Regions from separate parts of the Homo sapiens genome. Here all the other regions are linked to region 3. The links are contacts of gene promoters, found by promoter capture Hi-C in blood cells and fetal thymus (Javierre and others, 2016). All regions are on one chromosome and are shown on one strand. Each heading gives the region's core, a stretch centred on a gene start or on the middle of the fragment in contact. The rest is flanking DNA. Distances are from core to core; before and after follow the strand shown.

Region 1 (2,929 bases), core at 233-2,732, 810 kb before region 3:
GAGTTGGGAAGCAAACTATTAAAATGCCTGACTATAGCAACTGCCTGATATACAGTCAACACAACCCTTAACAACGGGGACACCTTCTGGGAAATGTGTCATCAGGCAATTTCGTCATTGTGTGAACATCACACAGTGACTTACACAAACCTAGGCGGTACCACCTACTACACACCCAGTCTCTATACCACCGCCTGTGCTCCTGGGCTGCTAACCTATGCAGCCTGGGACTGTACCGCACGCTGCAGGCAACTGTAACACAGGGGTAAGTATTTGTGCATGTAAACACAGAAAGGGTGCCATGAAAGATGATATTATACTCTTATGGGACCGCTATTATATGTGTGGTTCGTTGTTGACCAAAACACAGATATATGGTGCATGACTATATATCTATTGTGAATTAGACATGTCCTCTGCCCACAAGAAGAGGGCCACCCAATGGTGACGACTCAGTGGTGTGCCTTAAGAAAGTTGTGCCCAGGGTCCCCTTTCTGTGTCAACTGTGATGGCTGGGCCAAAGTGAGGATAAGAAGGACTTGTGGCTGAGCCCCTTCGGGAGGCCACCACATCGGGCAGCGCTTAAAGCCAGCCTGGGGGCCGAGCTCCGTGGCTCATCCCTGTAATCCCAGCATTTTGGAAGGCCGAGGCAGGCGGATCGCCTGAGGTTAGGAGTTCGAGACCAGCCTGGCCAACATGGTGAAACCCTGTTTCTACTAAAAATACAAAAAAAATTAGCCGGGTGTGGAGGCCCACGCCTGTAATCCCAGTTACTCGAGAGGCTGAGGTAGGAGAATTGCTTGAACCCAGGAAGCAGAGATTGCAGTGAGCCAAGATTGTGCCACTTCACTCCAGCCTGGGTGACAGAGCAAGACTCTGACTCAAAAATAAATAAATAATTAAAAAAAAAAGGCAACTTGGGAGTGGATGAAGCCCCTGGGGACGGGCAGATGCCTTTTGAGGGTCTCAATGCGGGGTGAGATCAGTGTCAACAGGCTCGAAAGTGGGTTGTCCAGGCTCAGCTAGCCCCCAGTCCTCCACGAGAACCTCACAGGGGCTGGTCTGGCCACACAGTGTTTGATTGTTACACTGTTTTACCACTTCCCTCTCCTGACTCAATCCCCCACTTGTCCACAGATCCCCTGTCACTGAAGACTCGTAGCAGGGAGGGGACGGGGGCTCTGGCATCACCTTCTGACTGTCACCGTCCCCGCCTCCAGCCTGCCCCAGTGTTGGGCCTTGTTCCCAGGTCCTCTGGGCTCAGGGTCGGCCAGGCCCCTTCTCCTGTGGTGTGGGCCTCCAGCCCCAGGAGCGCCAGGAGCTCTGGCGCCTTGGTCCCTTCCTCCTGTCCGGCGCCCCCAGCTGTACTCTGCCTCATTAGGAGTCGACCCCTCCTGGGAGGTGTGGTCTCTGGCAGGGTTAATGATTGCTCAGTGGAGGTGGAGATGGTGCCAAAGTCTGCTGGCCACATAGCTGCAGGCCGCAGAGGGTGCCCACCTGTGTGCCAGCGCCTGTCCGGCGCCTGCCTGCCGCCTCCGTGGCGAAGGGGACACAGGTAGGGACTATCCAGCTCATCGGGGGTCTCTGGGCCAGAGAAATGTGGGGGTTGGGGGGATCCCTAGAGCCAAGGCAAGCTTGGGGGTCTTTAAAAGTCTCCCCTGAAGCTGGGCAGGGGAAGTCACACGCTAGATGGGGCAGAGCCGGGTCAGGTCCCAGCCTGCTGTGAGGCCTGTTTCTTTGGTAAACATGGGATAATAATACCTCCTTCCCTGGGGGCTGATGGCCCCCTTCCCATCCAAGTCCTCAAGGGATGATTCTTCAGAGGATGGAAGGGAGGCAGGCACCCCAGGGAAACGAGGTAACTGGCCTGACCCCTTCATAGGATGCTCAGGGGTTGAGGACGGGGAAGCTGACCTGGGCTCTTACCCCAGCTGCTCGGTTCACATCCCAGCTCCACCCTGACCTTGGTGGGCTACTTAACTCTTCTGGGCCTCCGTTTCCTCATTTATCAAATGGGGATGAGAAGAGTTCCAGAAAGGGCCTGAAAAGCCCTGAGGCAAAGGTGAGCATGTGGCCTATGACCGAGCCCAGTGCCACCTCAGCCAGTGCTAGGAAGTGTCAGGCAGGGACTGACCCAGGCTGGCCCCAGCTCTGCCCAGTCCGGGCCTTGCACATCTCTCTGCCCTGGTAGAGGAGGTGGTGACCCAGCTGAGAGTCGGGGCCATGCTGCGTCACTCAGGCAGGCCTGTGCTGGGTTGGGCACCAGGCACAAGGCAGGGTCCCAGTGAGCACCGAGGTCCGGCAGATGGAAACAAGTCATGGCCCGTGTGTAGACCCCTTGATTTTTATCCTCACTCTGCTTCTCAGCAGGGGAAACTGAGGCCTGGAGAGGGGAGAGGGCTTGCCTGGGGTTGCACAACAAATATGTGAAATGCTGCCATCTGAACCCAGGGCTGTTTGAGTCTGTATGTGTCTGCTGGGCCAGGTGGCCTGGGCCATAGGCACTGGGAGGGCCCGTGGCGGGGAGCTGCGTGCTCAGGTCCCACATCCTTGCTCCGGGCACCCAGGCTCGGCTGGAGTCCGCTCTGTGGGTGCAGGCACGGCCTCCTGGATCAACGGAGCCCAGACCAAGGCTTGCCCAGGGACCCCTGGATTTGGAGGCAGCCTGGGTCTAACCTGCTGCCCCTGGCTCACCCATCTCTGGGCATCTATGAGCCTCGGTTTCCTTGGAATAATAGGATAGGATAATTCCTGCTTGGGAACAGCTGTGAGAAGTAAATGAAAAAGCAGAAGTGAAAGTGCATGGCGAGCTGGCCGTGTAGCGGTGGCGGTGCTGGGGGAGCTCTGTAGCATCGTGGCTGAGTGCACCCCGGGGGCTCCCCACACTGAAGGAGGACCCACCTCCCCACCCTGACCCTCCTGGAGGTCC
Region 2 (2,844 bases), core at 268-2,767, 910 kb before region 3:
GCCTCGGCCACCCAAAGCGCTGGGATTACAGGCGTGAGCCACAGAGCCCGGCCGACACCATTTTTAAACGGAAAGATTTCATATGCAGATCCAAATTTGCAGGGTTTTTGTTTTGTTTTGTTTTGTTTTTCCAATTAGCACTTTTTGGGGGTTGTGTTTTAGGGCGTACCATGTGCTGTTTTTCCAGGACGTCGTGGTTTGTGCAGACCTGGTAAGACCTGATAAGTCCTGAAAGAAGTAGCCAAAATTTCATGTACTCTTCACAGAACCAGCTCTCAAAGCCTTTTCTGTCTCACCGGATCAACCCTGCAAGGGGACGAGGGTGGGGCGCAGGCGGCCGAGAGCCTTGCTGAGAATCACACAGGTGGTCAGTGGAAAAGCGTGTACCAGACCCAGGCCTCTCTGGAAGGTGGGCAGAGGAGGCGTTCGGCGGGAGAGGTGGAAATGAAAACGGGAAATCTAAAGAGAGGTGGCGGACTAGAAGGGGCAAGGGACGTGCAGAGGAAGATAGAGATTGAGGGGTGGTGATAGGGTAGTGTAAGCAGCAGAAGGGAAGGGCAGGGGACTGCCTCGAGGAGAAGGGGCGGCGGCAGCACGTCAGGGGCTTTTGGGGAATCTCATTCAACAAATGGCAAAATGGAGCCCAAGTGGTTTGCCCAAGGATGTCCAGCAGTTGGCAAGGTGGCAACTAGAACCCGCGTCTCCTAATCCCGGTCCAGGGATCTTTCTTCGCCTGTCACAGAGACAAGGGGCCAGTGCAGCGCTAGTGCGGAGAGACAAGGCTCCAGGCACGGAAAAGCAGATGCCGGGCCGGGGTTCCAGCGCCGCAGTCACGGCGGTGGACGGCAAGCTGTGCGGACGACTGGGGGCGCCATGAATGGTCGAGGATCCGGGGAGCCGAGTCCAGATCTTCCTGCAAGTGACCCCGAAGCGGCAATGGAACGGTGGCCGAAGTCTGCCCACAGCTTCCGCTTCGAAGGCGGCGTCGGAAATGCCGCGCCAGTATCCAGAGCCCTTCGGAACCTCCCGAGAGATGGTCAGGAGCTTTTGGAAACTTTAGGTCAGGGGCCAGCGACCAAAAGGCTGGTATTTCGGAACGGCTGCGTCTCCCGAGAAACCTCCAAGAGTATCTGAGGTTGCCGGAAAATGGTTAGAGAGCAGCCGAAATCAGCCGAATGCCATTCGGGATGCTCCGGAGCTTCTCGAGGCACATTCGGGCCCTCTCGGCTCTGCAAGACTGCACTGGAATCTTAGGTCTCCTTTCGTCGCCTAATCTTAGCAGATCCTTTCGTCGCCTAAATGGTAAGAGCGACTTGTACCGACAGTCCCTCGGCAATTTCCGGAAGTGTTCGGGATAGGCCCGAGCGTGGCGCCCTCTGGCGGCGGCCAGAGGTGGCGGGGGGCGGGGGGAGGTTAGTGGGCCAGCGCGCGCAGACGCAGTTGCGCGCCGGCGGCCGTTCAGACCGGATGTGGTTGTGGCTGAGGTCAGTTCCGGCGGGTGACGGTGCGGACGGGTCAGGAGCGTAGAGGCGGCGGCAAAATGGCGGCGCCTGAGGAGCGGGATCTAACCCAGGAGCAGACAGAGAAGCTGCTGCAGTTTCAGGTAGCAGCGAGTACTCGGTGCAGCAGATGCCTCCGTGGGATGGGGAGTAGGCCCCTAGAGGAGTTCAGAACCCTCCTCAGATTGGGTTCAGATCCTTCTCAGACCAGCAGGCCGGCCCCCTCCCCCCCAGACTCCAACTGCCCTGATTCCCCCGGCCCCCAAGCCTCTGTTGGACCCTAGCCTTCCAGCCATCGCTGCGGGCAGACCCGCCTCGTCTGTGCCTCTGTGCCCTCAGCGTGTCAGCTTCCCTGGTTTGCCTTAGCGGCGTCAGTCCTCAGCCATCCTTCCCAGCCCGGTTATCGGTCGGACCCTCTCCGCCCAACGAGTCTATATCTGCCGGAGAAGCTTAGTCCCCACCGCGGAGTTGGCGTCATTTCGGGTCTCTGACAGGAAAACCTCCTGCCAGCATCCCATGCCATTTCCACATACACTCCCACAAACTGGGGCCTCTTGGATACCAGGTTTCGTGTTGGGGGTTCCGGTCGGGGAGGGGGCACCTACACACAGATCTGGTCCCCGCCCTAGAGGTGTGGGAGGACACCAAGTGAGGAAACAATGCAAGATGATAAGTGTCATCAGTGGTCTGTCGGGATTTATTACTTTTGGCTTATTCCTGGATTCCTGTGCTTAACTATGCTTGAGGAGGGTGGTAACTTGCAGAAATGTTATGTTAATACAAGATGTTGTATTAAGAACATTTGCCACTGATCACTTACCCCTGAGCTGGAGAATGGTTGGAGGATACCACTAGGGTGGGTAACCTTGGCACTTTGTTACCAGTTTCCTTATCTCTGAAAGGACTGTCTTAAAAATGTCTACCCCCAGGCCAGGAGCGGTGGCTCACGCCTGTAATCCCAGCACTTTGGGAGGCCAAGGCCAGCGAATCACGAGGTCAGGAGTTCGAGACCACTCTGGCCAATATGGTGAAACCCCGTCTCTACTAAAAATACAAATATTAGCCGGGCGTGGTGGTGCACGCCTGTGGTCCCAGCTACTCGGGAGGCTAAGGCAGGAGACTCGCTTGAACCCGGGAGGCGGAGGTTGCAGTGAGCCGAGATCGTGCCACTGCACTCCAGCCTGGGCAACAAGAGTGAAACTCCGTCTCAAAAAAAAAAAAATCTACCTCCTGAGGATGTTCGGGAGATCAAATGGACATATGGATGTTAGAAGGGCCTTGTAGACTGCAAAATGCCCCCAAATAGTATTTTCTGCTATTAATTTGACTTAGGATAGACCTAAAG
Region 3 (2,700 bases), core at 134-2,633:
TGAGGACCCATCTTCTTTTTAATTAGCTGGGCATGGTGGTATGCACCTGTAGTCCCAGCTACTGGGAAACTGAGGTGGGAGGATCGTTTGACCCCAGGAGGTAAAGGCTGCAGTGAGCTGTGATCACACTCAGACTGCACTGCAGTCTGGGTGAAAGAGCAAGATCCTATATTAAAAAAAAAAAAAAAAAAAAAAAAGATGGAAGGAAGGGAGGGAGGGAGGGAAGGAGGGAGAGAGGAGGCAGGCACAGTTGCTCACGCCTCTAATCCCAGCACTTTAGGAGGCCGAGGCGGGCAGATCATGAGGCCAAGAGATCGAGACCATCCTGGCCAATATGGTGAAACCCCTTCTCTACTAAAGATACAAAAAATTAGCTGGGCGTGGTGGTATGTGCCTGTAGTCCCAGCTACTTGGGAGGCTAAGGCAGGAGAATTGCTTGAACCTGGGAGGCAGAGGTTGCAGTGAGCCGAGTTCGTGCTACTGCACTCCAGCCTGGCGACAGAGCAAGACTCTCCACTAGCTCCATGCACCGTGTTGTAGGAGACGGTCCCTAAAGGGTCTGCAAGCTGGAGGAGGGAGGGCACGGCATAGGCCTGGCTGTGGGCAAACACAGGGACAGGGCCCTAGGGGAGGCTGAGAGTTAAGCCTGGAGGGGCAGTTAGCCTGTCCTGTCCTGTCAGAGGGCCTAGTTAGTCTTCCCCTCCTGGCAGGAAGACCTGCAAGGCAAAGCCCATGCAGCTCTCTCTTTGTCCCTCGCGTCCAGCTCAGGGCACTCGAGTTCAGGGTGGCCTTATACAGGGGCAAGGCCAGGGGTCATCTCCACAGGCTGGTTCAAGTTGAAGGGACCAGACACCCAGATTCTGTGTGGACATCTCCAGACAGGGTCTTGCAGCCCCTCAAGCTAGGATGAAATCCTCAAGAGGATGGTAGAGGGTGCCCAGCATAGAAGATGCTCAGAAAATTGGCCCTCCTTCAAGGTCTGATCCCTCTAGAGGGCACAGTTCAAGAGGAGCCCCTGAGCAGGTCATGCCAGATTAGACTTGCCCACCTGTGCCCCAAGGGCTGAGGCCCTGGGCCTCCAAGCTTCCTTGGTCCACAAAGGGAGTCAGCTTGGGTAGAGGGTGGGGAGGCCTCAGGCTCCAGAATCAGGCAAACTTGAGTTCTAATCTCAGTTCTGCCACATCTCAGCTGCATGGCTTCTTTGGGCCTCAGTTTCCTCATCTGTAAAATGGGGGTAATAATACCTGCCACACAAGATACCCGTAAAGATGGAGGGAGGACATGAATGTGTGCTGCCAGAGGGTGCCTGCCACACAGTCAAAGCTCAGGAAATTGGGGCCTTACTCTCACCTTAGCATTTTCAGGTGCCAGCAGCTCCCCCAGGACCAAATTCCTAAGAAAAAAATATGACCGGCCGAGGTCCAAGCCTGGGTCCGTGTGTCACTGGCCACCACACCCTTCCTTGCCCTTTCTTCCCCTTTTTCTCCATTCACTCACCACTTCTTCTCAAGCAGGCTGAAGCAGGGGAGGCCAGCCCTGCTCAACACAACTTCCCCAGGCCCTGCAGTGGCAGCCAGGGCAGGCCAGAGCCCCTGCAGGGCCCCTGCACACCTGCACCTCACTCCGCTGTGGGGTGCTGCTCTGATTGTGGCATGCCTGGTGCTTTCACTCATGGGGCCTCATTCAAGCTTCACAGCAGCCTCAGGAAATTGGGAGTGCTGAGCCCCATGCTACCCAGGGAAAACTGAAGCTCAGAGAAGTTACTTGTTCCCGAATAGCAGAGCTGGAATTGGATTCCACCCCCACTCCCACCCATCTCCAGATTTCTGTCCCTACTCAATTTCAGCTCCAGCTATGCTATCAACAACTGTCAGGGCAAGAGAGGCTCAGGATGGAGAGCTACAGGTGGCATTCAGGGGCTGAGAGTCCCTAGTGAAGGGGTGCCAAGGCCAGGGTCCTGATGGCTGCTTGGGAGCACGAGGCAAAGACGGTGCTTCTTGAGGAGGGAGTTCAGATCTGACCCCTCCCACCAACCAGGCCAGCACTCCAGGGGTGACCAGACTGGCAGGGAGAGAGGCCGGGACATGGGTGGATAAGCACGTGGTGGGAAGGGGCATTCAAGGGGCCTGGTGTTTGGGGACGACTAATGTCAACGGGCAGAGATCGGGGAGCAATTCCAAGCGAAGAGCAGGAGCAGATACCCAGGCACTGGCAATGGCAAAGCCGGAAGCAGGGGTGTGGGGAAAATAGAAAAGTTCGGTGAAGTGTAGGGTGGAGGTGAGGGGGAGGAAAATGGGTGAGGCTGAAGGGGGTTCATTAGTCAGGCCCAGGTAGGGTTTTAGCCGTAACCTGGCAACCGCAACGTGCCTCCGGGGGCAGGGAAAGGGCCCGGGTTGGCACCGTGGGGAGGGGTGGGGCCTGGGGAGGATCTAGCAGGCAGCCCCACTTAACGACATTCAGTTAAGCAGAACGTGGAAAATAAACCTGTGAGGGCCAAACAAAATTGAAGTGCTGGCTGGCGCCAGCTCCAGCGCCTATCACCCCTGACTCGGGGTTAGAGGGCAGGACAGAGGCTCAGGGTGTGCGCGAGGAGGGCAGGGCCAAGCAGCCCAGCGGAGGGGGGCGAGTCCGGGTGATTCTCGGGGATCTGGGGGAGGGCGATGACTGCGTCTCCGAGGCTGGGAACACCGTGGCGGTGCA

The links. Contacts are between HindIII fragments. The CHiCAGO score rates a contact against its expected background, and 5 or more counts as called.
Region 1: the fragment with the promoter of CDHR2 here is called in contact with a fragment that was not itself captured in region 3 in 1 of 17 cell types (fetal thymus); the score reaches 6.5 in fetal thymus.
Region 2: a contact is called between the fragment with the promoter of FAF2 here and a fragment that was not itself captured in region 3, in 1 of 17 cell types (fetal thymus). The highest score is 6.1, in fetal thymus.

Annotation. Positions count from the first base shown.
Region 1 is chr5:176,547,860-176,550,788 of GRCh38, forward strand. It overlaps CDHR2 (cadherin related family member 2), which reads left to right and starts at 1,483. Exons shown (of 32, transcript NM_017675.6): 1 at 1,483-1,555. RefSeq lists an enhancer at 1,755-2,688. The HindIII fragment of the contact is 9,099 bases long and covers 1-1,632 here.
Region 2 is chr5:176,446,868-176,449,711 of GRCh38, forward strand. FAF2 (Fas associated factor family member 2) reads left to right here and starts at 1,518. Exons shown (of 11, transcript NM_014613.3): 1 at 1,518-1,603. The coding sequence starts at 1,541. RefSeq lists enhancers at 899-1,088, 1,169-1,228, 1,539-1,598 and a silencer at 1,409-1,458. The HindIII fragment of the contact is 11,476 bases long and covers 1-1,946 here.
Region 3 is chr5:177,360,394-177,363,093 of GRCh38, forward strand. All of the region lies in intron 1 of RGS14 (regulator of G protein signaling 14), which reads left to right. Among named protein-coding and RNA genes, the nearest start is that of RGS14, 3.8 kb to the left of the region's middle. RefSeq lists an enhancer at 1,507-1,656. The HindIII fragment of the contact is 605 bases long and covers 1,082-1,686 here.